Linked DNA regions of Homo sapiens: region 1 is linked to region 2. The links are contacts of gene promoters, found by promoter capture Hi-C in blood cells and fetal thymus (Javierre and others, 2016). All regions are on one chromosome and are shown on one strand. Each heading gives the region's core, a stretch centred on a gene start or on the middle of the fragment in contact. The rest is flanking DNA. Distances are from core to core; before and after follow the strand shown. Region 1 overlaps ASS1 (argininosuccinate synthase 1). Region 2 holds the start of PRDM12 (PR/SET domain 12).

Evidence for each region. The method cuts DNA at HindIII sites, captures the fragments that hold promoters and counts their contacts. A CHiCAGO score of 5 or more calls a contact.
Region 1: a contact is called between a fragment that was not itself captured here and the fragment with the promoter of PRDM12 in region 2, in 6 of 17 cell types (megakaryocytes, erythroblasts, M1 macrophages and 3 more). The highest score is 7.6, in megakaryocytes.

The regions. Positions count from the first base shown.
Region 1 is chr9:130,453,312-130,458,597 of GRCh38, forward strand. ASS1 (argininosuccinate synthase 1) reads left to right here. Exons shown (of 15, transcript NM_054012.4): 3 at 994-1,062; 4 at 5,090-5,278. Among named protein-coding and RNA genes, the nearest start is that of ASS1, 11 kb to the left of the region's middle. RefSeq lists an enhancer at 172-672. The HindIII fragment of the contact is 5,982 bases long and covers 1,046-5,286 here.
Region 2 is chr9:130,659,126-130,666,039 of GRCh38, forward strand. PRDM12 (PR/SET domain 12) reads left to right here and starts at 5,469. Exons shown (of 5, transcript NM_021619.3): 1 at 5,469-5,751. The coding sequence starts at 5,529. RefSeq lists enhancers at 3,911-4,752, 6,043-6,716. The HindIII fragment of the contact is 14,404 bases long and covers 1-6,914 here.

The sequences.
Region 1 (5,286 bases), core at 2,787-5,286, 210 kb before region 2:
AAGGTTCTGTTTCCAGAGGAAGTGAGCCTGGGTCTCTGGACAGACAAAACTTAGCTCTTGCCAAAAGTGGCTTGTTTGCCGGCATATTGGCATGTCTAACTGCGCCCAATGCCCTTGTCATTCAGGTTGGGGAAAGTGAGGCCCAGGGGAAGAAATACTTTGCTCACAGTCACCTGGTGGGTGAGAGCACAGCTTTGAGGGGCTGCAAAGAGCCCAGGGTGTATCCATCTCACTGTAGGTAGCACAGCGGGGCAATCAGAGCTGGAGCTGGGCGTATAGACCCCTGGGCTACCACCTGGGGGATTTAAAAGCTGAATGTGATTCAGATAAGCACCTGCAGCTGGGCTTTGGCAAGATTCCAGGGTCTGGTGAGCCGAATGAAGGGAGTGAGGGCTGAGGCCAGGATCTGGGCAGCAGGCCAGAGTCCAGGCAGCAGGAAACATGGCAGTGTCTAGACAGGGGCTGTCAGACCCCGAGGTCAGGGCACTGGCCACAGGGACGGAGCTGGAAGTTCCTGAGCACGGGCTTCTCTGCCTCCCGCCTCTCAGCTGCCTCAGGATGGCCAAGGCATGGCCTTTGACTAGGGAGGAGAGCTGGAGGCTAGGAAGGCCCTGACAAGCTAATCTTTGCACTGGCTGAGAAAGAGTTTTCTGGAAAAGACAGATGAGTTTCAGGAGAACCCTAGACCTTCCAGCAATGACAGCAGATGGTTGTCTCCCAGCAGCCTGTGTGGCCAGGGCCAGGCTCAGCCAATGCTCCAACCCATGGAAGCCACCAGCCATCACCACGCTACAATCCAGCTCCCAATCTCACCTCCTGGAAGAATCTCACCTCTCCAGGCCTTGGGCTTTGTCCTTTTTCCTTCTTACTGTGACTTGGCCATGGAATGGAAGCTGTCTCTGTAGCAGGGGGTGGGAGGCTGCTGCATGCGGATGGTGTGAACTCAGGGCTCCCCCCAGGGGCTGACGGAGCCTCTCCGCTTCTGCTTCTCAGGCCAACATTGGCCAGAAGGAAGACTTCGAGGAAGCCAGGAAGAAGGCACTGAAGCTTGGGGCCAAAAAGGTACCAGGCGGGAGGCAGGGATTTGGGCTGGGAGTGGGGCGGTGATGTGGAGGGCAGTGGTGGATGCTCCTGCCCCAGGGATCCCATCCCTTCCAGTGTGTCTTCTTGCTTCTAAGAGTATGAGATCATCCTGCTCTCAGGTGTGTGAACCCTCTTGTTTTTCTGCCTCCCCCACGCCCTCTTCCACCCACCCACCTTCCCATCCAGGTGGAGTGTCTCTTCCCCACCCACATACCTTCCCTTCTCTTTTATCTCTCTGTCCATCTATGCACCCACTCACCCTCTTTTATCTCTGTTTATCTACTCGTCCACATATCCATCCATCATTCATCCCTCCATTAGCTATCCATCGATCCATCCATCCATCCATTCAGCCATCCATCCATCCATCACCCACCCATCCATTCACCCATCATCCATCCATCCATCCATCCATCACCCACCCATCCATTCACCCATCATCCATCCATCCATCCATTCATCCATTCATCCATCATCCATCCACCCATCCATCCATCACCCATCCACTCATCCACCCATCCATTATCCATCCATCCATTCATCCATCCATCCATCATCCATCTATCCATCTATCCATCCATCCTCCGTCCATTCATCCATCATCCATCCATCCATTCACCCATCATCCATCCATCCATCATCCATCCATTCATCCATCATCCATCCATCCATCCATTCACCCATCATCCATTCATCCAGCCATCATCCGTCTATCCATCCATCATCCATTTATTCATCCATCATCCATCCATCCATCCATCATTCTTCATCCTTCCATGCATCATCCATTCATCCATCCATCATCTACCCATGCATCCATCCATCATCCATCCGTCTATTCATCCATCCATTCATCCATCCATCATCTATCCATCCATCCCATTATCCATTCACCCATCCATCCCTTCATTATCCATCCATCCATCCACATATCCATCTGTCATTAATCCCTCCACTGTCTATCCATCCATTCATCCAGACAGCCAGCCATTCATCTATCCATCCCCCATCCATCCATCCATCCTTCATCCATTCACCGTTTTTCTATCCATCCATTCATCCATCCATCCATCTGTCATCCATCATCCATCCTTCTGTCCATCATCCCCCTACCTGTCCTTCCCTCTTTTATCTCTCTGTCTACCCATTCTTCCATTCATTCAACAGAATCAGAGAACTCCAATTGAGTCTGGTGCCTTGATTGTGAATCTAGGCATGTGGCAGGCAGACCCCTGTCCCATACAGGGCATTTATGATGAACAGTGTCATCAGGACCCCTGCTCACATGTGCTCACTCCCCATGGAGAAGCCCTTGCCACTTGTGCCCCTTCATTTGGGAGAGTGAGCAGGGGACATAGCAGGGATGATGTGCAAGGCCACCAGCCCACCTGCAGGGTCAGAGCTGATCCCCTCTGTGGGGTGCTTCTGCAGGGTTGCCAGGGTAATTAGCATGTTAAAATGAACACGGGAGGGAGTGGATGCCCCAGTCCCAAGTCACCTACTGGCCACAGGCCTGGAACTAGAATGTCCCTCCTTGGTTCTGTGCCTCCCGAGTGCTGGAGAGCAGAGGGGTTGTCTGAGCAGTAGTCCAGGAAGGGGAGAAAGAGCCCTGAGTGTTGAAGATTCGAGTGCGCTTTCAGCAGCGCAGGAGCAGGCTTTGTGCACGGCTTCAGCTTTTGTCCTTTATTCTAGATGAGCAGTTCTCAAAACTTGTGGTCTTGGGAATCCTCTACACTCTAATTTACGTGGCGTTTTTAATGTTTATTTTCTTGCATATAACATTAGGATGGGCCAGGCACAGTGGCTCACGCCTGTAATCCCAGCACTTTGGCAGGCTGAGGCAGGCAGATCACCTGAGGTCAGGAGTTCAAGACCAGCCTGGCCAACATGGTGAAACCCTGTCTCTACTAAAAATACAAAAATTAGCTGGGCGCGATGGTGGGTGCCTGTAATCCCAGATGCTCGGGAGGCTGAGGCAGGAGAGTCGCTTGAACCCAGGAGGCGGAGGTTGCAGTAAGCTGAAATCACACCATTGCACTCCATCCTGGGCAACAACAGCAAAACTCTGTAAAAAAAACCAACCAACCAACCAAACAAACACAAAAACACATTTATCCTAATGTTTTTTATATATCCTTAGTCCCAATTGCTTTCTTTTCTATGCCTTTTTATTTCATTTTTTAAAAGGATTTTTTTCAAAATAATTATAGACACAGGAAGTTGCAAAAGCAGTACCAAGAATTTCTCGACTCTTAAAAATTATTGAAGGCCTTGGCTGGGTGCGGTGGCTCACGCTTGTAATCCTAGCACTTTGGGAGGCTGAAGTGGGCAGATCTCTTGAGGTCAGGAGTTTGAGACCAGCCTGGCCAACCAGCCTAGTTTCTTTAGTAGAGAAACCCCACATGCCTGTAGTCCCAGCCACTCGGGAGGCTGAGGCAGGAGAATCACTTGAACCCGGAAGGCAGAGGTTACAGTGAGCCAAGATTGCACCTCTGCACTCCAGTCTGGATGACAGAGAGTCCATCTCAAAAAAATAAAAATTACTGAAGGCCTTAGAGAGCTTTTGTGGATTACATCTGTTGATATTTATCACATTAGAAATAAAAGCTGAAATGTTTTAAATGAACAGTTCATGTTAACATAAGTAACATTACACTTATGAAAAATAACTATTTTCTCAAACAAAAAATTTTAGTTAAGAATCTTATTGGCTTCCATTTTTGCAAATCTCTGTAATGTCTGGCTTGACAGAAAACAGATGGACTCTTGTAGCGGTTTTCTGCATTCACTTGTTTTTTCGTTTGTTTGTTTGTTTTTCTTTTTTAGCCTCCCAGGGCTTCCTCGCTATGTGATGCCTTGTTTTATTGAAGTTTATGAAGAAAACTGGGCAACACAGTGAGATCCCATCTCTACAAAAAATAAAAAACTTAGCCGGGCGTGGTAGCACATGCCCGTAGTCCCAGCTACTCAAGAGGCTGAGGTGGGAGGATTGCTTGAACCCAGGAGGTTGAGGCTGCAGTGAGCTAGGATCACACCACTGCACTCCAGTCTGGATGACAGAGAAAGACCCTGTCTCAAAAAAACAAAAAAAAAGTTTTCACTCAGTGTCTCCCTGAAAAGTCATTGGGAACCCCTGGGGGTCTACATTTCAAGAACCATTCCTCTGGATCGGGGTTTCTCAGTCTTGGCCTTGTTCCCGTGTGGCTGGCCGTCCTGTGCACGGGAGGATTTTAGCAGTATCCCCATAGCCTTTACCCACTAGATGCCAGAATTCCACCCCCCACCTGGTAGTTGTGGCAACCAAAAATATCTCCAGATACTTCCAAATGCCTCCCCTACTCCCACCCCCAACAGGGACAAAACCGTCTCTGGTTGGGAACTACTGCTGTGAGATCTTAGGTGACAACTAAGTTTCATCTTGTTGGGGCTGATTTAGAAGCCACATCCAGTTTCACAGAACGGTGCATCAGGATTGATTAGCAGGCTGGCCGCGGTGGCTTGTGCCTGTAATCCCAGCACTTTGGGAGGCCGAGGCAGCTGGATCACCTGAGGTCAGGGGTTCAAGACCAACCTGGCCAACATGGTGAAACCCCGTCTCTACCAAAAATACAAAAATTAGCAAGCCATGGTGGCATGCGCCTGTAATCCCAGCTACTCAAGAGGCTGAGGCAGGGGAGTTGCTTGAACCTGGGAGACGGAGGTTGCAGTGAGTTGAGACTGAGCCACTGCACTCCAACCTGGGCAACAGAGCAAGACTTCGACTCAAAAAAAAAAAAAAAAAGAGAGCTATTGATTAGCAATGTCTGCCATGAGTGCAGGAGGGAGAGTAACAGTGCAGTGTGCTGGGATTGATGAATGATGTCTACTACAGATGCAGAAGAAGAAGCACCAGGTACAGCGGGGGTGGCCCCGTATAGGTCTCAGCTAGCTGAGGCCCCTGGGGCTCTGTATGCCAGATGGCCCCTGTCCTTGCCTACTTCTTCCTTCTGGGCTCCTCTTCCCGTAGGTGTTCATTGAGGATGTCAGCAGGGAGTTTGTGGAGGAGTTCATCTGGCCGGCCATCCAGTCCAGCGCACTGTATGAGGACCGCTACCTCCTGGGCACCTCTCTTGCCAGGCCCTGCATCGCCCGCAAACAAGTGGAAATCGCCCAGCGGGAGGGGGCCAAGTATGTGTCCCACGGCGCCACAGGAAAGGTGAGGCA
Region 2 (6,914 bases), core at 4,219-6,718:
TTGAAAGCCTCTCCAGGCCTCCCGCTCTTTCGGAAGCCGTGCCTCTCCCCCTCTGCTTCCTTCATCTCCGAGTCTTTGTACCCCTGCGTCTCCGACTCGGCCTTTCATCTGCTCCCTCCACCTCGGCATCGCCTTGCCTCAGTCTCCCCCGACCCCTGTCTCGCCCCCTCTGCTTCCAGAAGCCTGCGCCTCTGTCTCTCCCACCGCCCGGTCTCCTGGTGTCCCCGGCGTCTCTCCCGTCGTTCCCGCCGCCTTGATCAGCCTGGGCTGTGGCGCTGGCATCGCTGGCCTGGGGACCGGGGTGTGGGCGATGGAAGGGGGTTCGAGAGGCGCAGGGGAGGGGCTTCCCCTCCTCCGCCCCTGGGCGCCTGGGGAGACTCGCGTGCCAGTCACCTGCCGGTCGGGGCGCCGACTTCGCGCCTACGCACTCCACGTGGGCGCCCCGGGGCGCGCCTTTGTCTCTCCCGAGCCTTGAAAGCTAATTACATTGGGAGGGGACAGGGGTGGGGTGGGAGAGGGGGCCGCTGTCCCCATTCACTGAGCCGAGGCCGCCACTCCGCCGGCAGCCCCGCGCAGGCCTGGCCCCGAGTCACGTCTGTTGAAACCGTTTTTTTCGGCCTCGCCCCCACCCGCCTTGGCAGCCAGCCGCGCCTTTGTACGCGCCGGCGGGGGCGCCCTGGAACCCTGAACCGTCTTACGGGGAACGGGGGTGGGGGGAGGGGAGCGGCGCGGGCCCCACGCGAGGAAGGAATTTCCTGGGCCACTGCGAAAGATTGAGGCTCAGAAAGCCAGAGAGAGACGTGCGAGGAGGAAGCGGAGAGGGTGTGCGAAGCTGGAGAGGGAGTCGGAGCGCCAGCGAAAGAGGGGAGCGCTGGGGAAGGAGGAAGAGAAGGAGAGGGGGAGAAGAGAGACGCGGATGCTGGGCGCGCGACGGCAGCGGGCGGAGGAGGGGAGCGGCCGGGAACCTGCGCGCAGGGGAAGCCAGGACGGAGCGCAGCACCGGCAGGGGAGGGTTGCCGAGGGGCTGTGCCGAGGAGCCCGGGTGGGGGCGGCTGGACCGCGGGCCGCGGGACTCACAGACAGTGCGAGGCGGCGCGGGGGCCCCTCTCCCTATGCGGGGCTGGGGCGCAGGGGCTGGGCGGGGCGGGTGGGCGTCTGAGCGCGGCGCGGGCGCATTCTTCGCCTTTTCTTCCTCGGGCTCATTCCGGCCGATCGATACCTGCGCGGGACCTGCCCCCGCCGCTAATATCTTTTTAATGAGTTCGCCAGGCTTAAAGCGAGCGCGATCTGCCCTCCAGGGTGGATTTTCCCCCGGCAGATGTTTCGGGAGGAGGAGGCGCGCGGAGCTCCCGGGAGGGGGGACAAATCTCTCCCTCCGAGGGGCGAGAACAGGAGACTTTCTTCTAAAGTTCAAAAGAAAGACGGGCTTTCACTCGGCCCCCAAAAATGTATTTCTCGGCGGACAATGGGCTTCTTTCTGCGCCTCTGAGGGCCGGCGGGGCGGGCAGGGCGGGGACCCGTGCGCTTTGGCCCCGCCTGACCGACTCGCACCCCCCTCCCCCGCACCCAGGCCCGGGCCCCAGAGCGAGGGCGCAGGAGCCGCGAAGCCGGCCGCCCTTCCGAGCGTCCCCCTGAAGCGCACTGTCGGGACCTGGCTCTCCCGGAGCTAAGCCCCGGCGCACCGGCGAGAACGAAAGCGTCGTGCGGGGCCCTGGGCTGTCCCACACGCCCCCGTTCTCATAGGTGCCTCAGCCGGGCCGAAGGGACGCGCGCTGGTGCCTCAAGGGGAGGACGAACGGACCTCCGGGCTTGGGCCGCGGCCTCCTTCCCCTCGGCGCTCCGCCCTGAGCGGGGCAACAACTAGAAATTAGCCAACCCCGGGCGGCTGCCGGGCCCTGAGACTGTCTTGCCCGCCCCGGCCCAGCCACCCCTCCGGGTCGCCCCTGCTCTTCTCCTCCACTTCCCCTTCAATGTCCCTCCGTGGGGCCGTCGGCCTGCCGCGGCGGCCCTCTCTCCACTCCCGTGGGCTCAGGGGAAGAGGGCACCCGGGCGGCGAGGATGACCTCCGAAGAGCCGCGGCAAATTGATTCGTTCCGCCCGGAGCCGGGGCCGCGTGAATGGGGGCCCGGGCGGCGGCGGCAGCGGAGAAGAGGATAAAGATGTTCTCCCTGAAAGGGGGAGGGGGCGCGGAGCGGGAAGCGGGGCCATTCACTCCTGGCCCGGCCCCTCGGGAAGCCGCGCCGAAGAAAGGGGGCCGAGGCCTATTCAAGTCCTACGAGCCGCCCACAATGGACCGATATACTGAGGGCCTCTCTATTAACGCCCATGAATATTAAAGAGATCGCCAAGTGGCGGCCAGCGGGCGAGGGGGGCGACGGAGCCTGAGAGCTCCGGCCCGGCCGAGGGGAGGGGGCTTTTGCGCGAGCACATTCCGCGCCTGGGCCCCGCGGAAAATGACAAAATAACACGGGTCATCCGCTGGGAAAGCCCGGAATGTTTCCCCTCGAAATCTCCTCCCGGGGAGATGTGAGCACAGGGTCTTGCTCCCTATTTCAATGCACCTTGAGACTGGGCGCTACCTACGGGCTCCTTTTTCCCCGGGCGGGGGTCCAGGTGGGTTTTGCCGCTAGACTAGAAGCACAAAATGTGAGCGCGGTGGAGATTTGGGCGCACCAGCTGGGAGGACGTTCTGCGCTCCGCTTCTGCCCGGCTCCCAGTACTGCTCTCCGGGCTTGCGGGTCCGGAGGAGAGGAATGGGACTCCCTGGCCGCAGTCCGAGCCCGTGGTCACTGCGCCAGCGGAATCCAAGCCTCTAACTCTAAGCCGGGGTTCAGGACCCAAACGCTGCACCCCAGCACGGAGGATGCACAGACCTGAGGGCTTCCCGCAGTGGGACGTGGCCCTGGAGAGGGCAAAATCCTCGGGGTTGTCGTGGGGTAAAGTGATCTTACCCAAAGAGAGACCAAGCAAAGAAACCTCAGTTCACAAAGTCCAACTCAAACCATTGCACAGACAGGGACACCGAGGCCCAGAGAGGAAAGGGGCAGTCCACAGGACACACAGCAGTCCTTATCCCCCTTTGGTGTCCTGGAGGAACTGAGGTCGCTTTCGGGGCTTGGGAGCTGCCGCAGCGCTTGGCTCCTGGCAGCGCTCCCCGACGTCGTCTCCCTCGCTCCTAGCACTTTGTCCTCTCCACCTAGGTCTTCCCAGAAGCCAAGAAGTAGGCCCCGGTGAGGCTCCCCTGCAGGAGCCATCGGACTCCATACGCCCCCTCAGACTCGAGCTCTGGCCAGGGAGCCGATGCGACCCACAAGCTGCGTCGAAAAATGAGTGGAGGGTTCGGCGACCCTAACCCACCTCCCTCCTCAGCAGCGCTGCCCTCTGCTGGCGCCCTGCCCAACGGTCCTGCCTTCTGCCAGGTGTGCCCTTCCTTGGGCTCCAGCCTCGGGCGGACCCGGACGCAGGGTCTGAAGGCCAGCTACCGCCGCCTTCCTCCCTTTGCGTCCCAACGGGGACGGGGGATGCCGGAGACTACTGGCAGGAACTGGGGACCAGGGGTCTGGAGTCTGGACGCCAGGTGTGAGACCCTCTTAGCCAAGGCGCGTCCGGGTGGTGGAGGGGCGTCTATGCCAACAGGCGTTTGGACAGGGTCTCGCTCATGGGAGGTCAGCTCGCTGTTCTTCCACCCAAGTCCTCCGCGCTGAGGAGAAGGTCTAGGGAGTCCACACAGTCCAGCGGAGACTAATCCGTGAGCCTGACCCACGCCGAGAGGGTCCAGGCACCTCTGTTAGCGGCATCTGAAATTGTAGGCTGGTGATGGGAGCCAGAAGTGCGGCAGGTGGGGTGAGCTCCCTCACCCAGCATGTCAGGGCCTGGGGTCCGAGGCTTGAGGCTGACACTGGGGAGCCGCGAAGCCTGCAGGAAGCGGGGCCTTCCGCTGGGCTCAGCAGCTACCTGCTTCGGGAGAGGGGATCGCTGGGCTCCGAGGTGCCTCGAAACCGCCGCAAAGCAAGTCTGCTCCTGGGATGATGGGCAGGAGGAATAGAGGAGAGGAAGGGAAAGAAGAGAGAGGCAGAGGAGAAAGAAAGAACTAGGAGGCAAGAAGGAAGGGGCGCCGCAACGCCACCGGCTTCCCGAGGTTGCAGCTCAGCAAGGAGCCGGAAAGCCGGGCCGCAAGCCGAACCCGCACTGAGGCCTCTCGCGGAGCTGCCTGCAGTTTCTGAGGGACTTCGCTCTCAGGCACGCCTGCTCCCACCTAGGAAGGGTCTCGGGACCCCTTTCAATCCCCCTATATCCCGTAGGAAATTCTTTTCCCAGAGACAGGCTGCCAGGGCGATTCCTGTCCGCCCATCTCGACCCCCGACCTGGCCCCGCAAGGGCCGGGAGCCTGGCCTTCCATGAAGCTGTCTCAGGCCGGGACCAGCCCCAGCCCCGACGGCCGCTGCGGCCCCGCCTCGGCAGCCCCGTGAGCCCGCGGAGGAGTTTCGCACCCGACCGTGCACAGCGACCGAGTTGGCGCGGCCCGTATGAAGCGAAGCGCCGGCTTCAGCAGCGCAGTCTGAGCAGGGGATCCGCGTGGCAACTAGGGCTGCGCGCGAGCTCGGGGCGACTGTGGCGGCCCGGGGAGTGCAGGGCCGGAGAGGGAAGAGGACGCGGGCTCTGGCCGGGGAGGGAGAGCGGTGCAGGGCTGGGCCGGCCAGCCGGGGCAGCAAAGTAAAGGTGAACGCCGGGCTGGGCCAGGCCGGTGAACATAGATCAGGCCTGAGGGGAGCGCGGGGCCCGAAGCCAGGCGTCCCCTCTTGTCTAGCCTGGTCCCTGGAGTCCTAGAGAGCCTCGCCGCACCCCCTCCCCTTCTCCGTCCCCTCCTCTCCTCAGAGCCGGCTGAGCCTCCCTCCCTGCCCTGCGCTTCCCACGGGGAGAGAAGGAAAAACAGGAGGGGGGAGGAAGGACCAGGAAGGGGAGAGAGGAGTGGAGGGGTACTGTTTGGAGCGGTCCGCGCGCCCCCGCCCCTCGCGCTCTCGCGACGAAGGCTCCTCGAGCCCAGCCGGGTACAACAAGTCTGTCCTCCGACGTCAGGGGGTCATTAATAACCAATTAGGAGGGTCACTGCGGCTCCTATAAAGGCGCTGAGATTTTGCCAAGGGGAAGACGGCCCCGGCCGAGTGTGCGAGAGGCTAGCGCGCGCCTGAGCCCCTTGCTGCCGCTTCCCTGCAACCACCCGCCTCTCACCCACCCTGCACCCCCCGCACCCGCCTCCGCCTCCACCCGCGTCTCTCCACCCTCCGCGCCGCCTTTGCCATCTCTACAGATTTCACCATCTCTCTTCCCCTCTCCCCCTCGTTCGCTTTCCTCCCAGTCGCCCCCTCACCTCCCGCTCCCTCCTGCGTCCTCCTCCTCTCCGTCCTCCCCCTGCTCTGGTTCCTTCTCCATCGCAGCGCTCTCCTCTCGCCCCTTGGGCTCCCCTCTCGCCCGCCCACCTCCCCCGTCGGCCCGGCCGTCCCCCGGCGCCGGGGAGCTCCGGGCCGCCCATGATGGGCTCCGTGCTCCCGGCTGAGGCCCTGGTGCTCAAGACCGGGCTGAAGGCGCCGGGACTGGCGCTGGCCGAGGTTATCACCTCCGACATCCTGCACAGCTTCCTGTACGGCCGCTGGCGCAACGTGCTCGGGGAGCAGCTCTTCGAGGACAAGAGCCACCACGCCAGCCCCAAGACAGCCTTCACCGCCGAGGTGCTGGCGCAGTCCTTCTCCGGCGGTGAGTCCAGCCGTCGGAGCCCGGCGCAATCCCTCCTCCCGGCGACCCCCATTCCCGTCCTGGCGATGCGCGAGACGCGGCTGGGATACCCGGCCTCGCTGCTACTCGCGCCAACCTGGGCTCTCCCGGCGCTCGGTGCACCTCAGTTTCCCCATGGGCCAAACCAGGACGCGAGCCACCAAGCAGCTCCGCAGCCCACCCGGCTCAAGGACCGACCCCGGCGACCCCGTCGCTCGGCCCCGACGCCCCCGCCGGCCCCTCCCTTCCCCTCCTGCGCTTGAGCTGGCGGGTTCCCGGCATTTACAGCCTTACTAGGCGTGTAATAGCAGTTGACTCAAAAAGAAGGGGTTTTAAATTCATTTAGTTAACTTGGGCTTGACCCACGAAAGTTCCCACTTAAACCAAGAACTTTAAAAGGCAGCCGGGGCTGGGGAGGGGGTGGAGGGAGGGCGGGCGGGGAGAAAAAGCCGCGGGGAGAGCGAGGGAGAGAAAGAGAGAGCGAGAAAAGTTTCTTTTCTTTAAGATGTCTCAAGTTCTTATTCCTCATTCATCAACCCGCAAACAATATCTTTCCCTGGCTCTGGCATCTCTGCGCGTCGCCCTCTTTTCCCCCTTTACGATTTCTGTTCCTCTCTTAATTTACCGTGAAGACTAATTCCACTTCCATTCACGCTATGTCAACCATCTAATCCCCCTTTTTTGTAAGGGGAATTCCTCGGCCCCTTTTAAACAAGTCCCCTCCGCATTGAGCTACAATTTACTGCTACAGCATTCTTCCAGGGCTAATGAATTTAGAATTAGCAATTTCTTTCGAATGGAGCCGAATGAATGCGATCACTTTAACAGCGTGACAAATTGCCCGCCGCGCCGCAATGGACACCGTTTAACCCCCCCCTTTCAGCCGGCCCGCTCGCCGGGTATTTTCCCAGGTAGCTTAGAGGGGAACCTTGTAAGACATGGAGGCCGCCCTTGTGCGCCTCGCCGCTTCCAGCCCTGCCGCAGATGCCCGACAGGGGAACCCTCGGGGAGCTGGGGGCCGCCGCGGCTCCTCCCCGCCCAGAGAGATGACATCGGGGTTTGTCTGAGCCCGGGCGCCGCCCTCCCTGGCACCCCAGGGCCTGGGAGCAGAGAGGGACTCGGGCGCGCCCGGGGTCACACAGCGA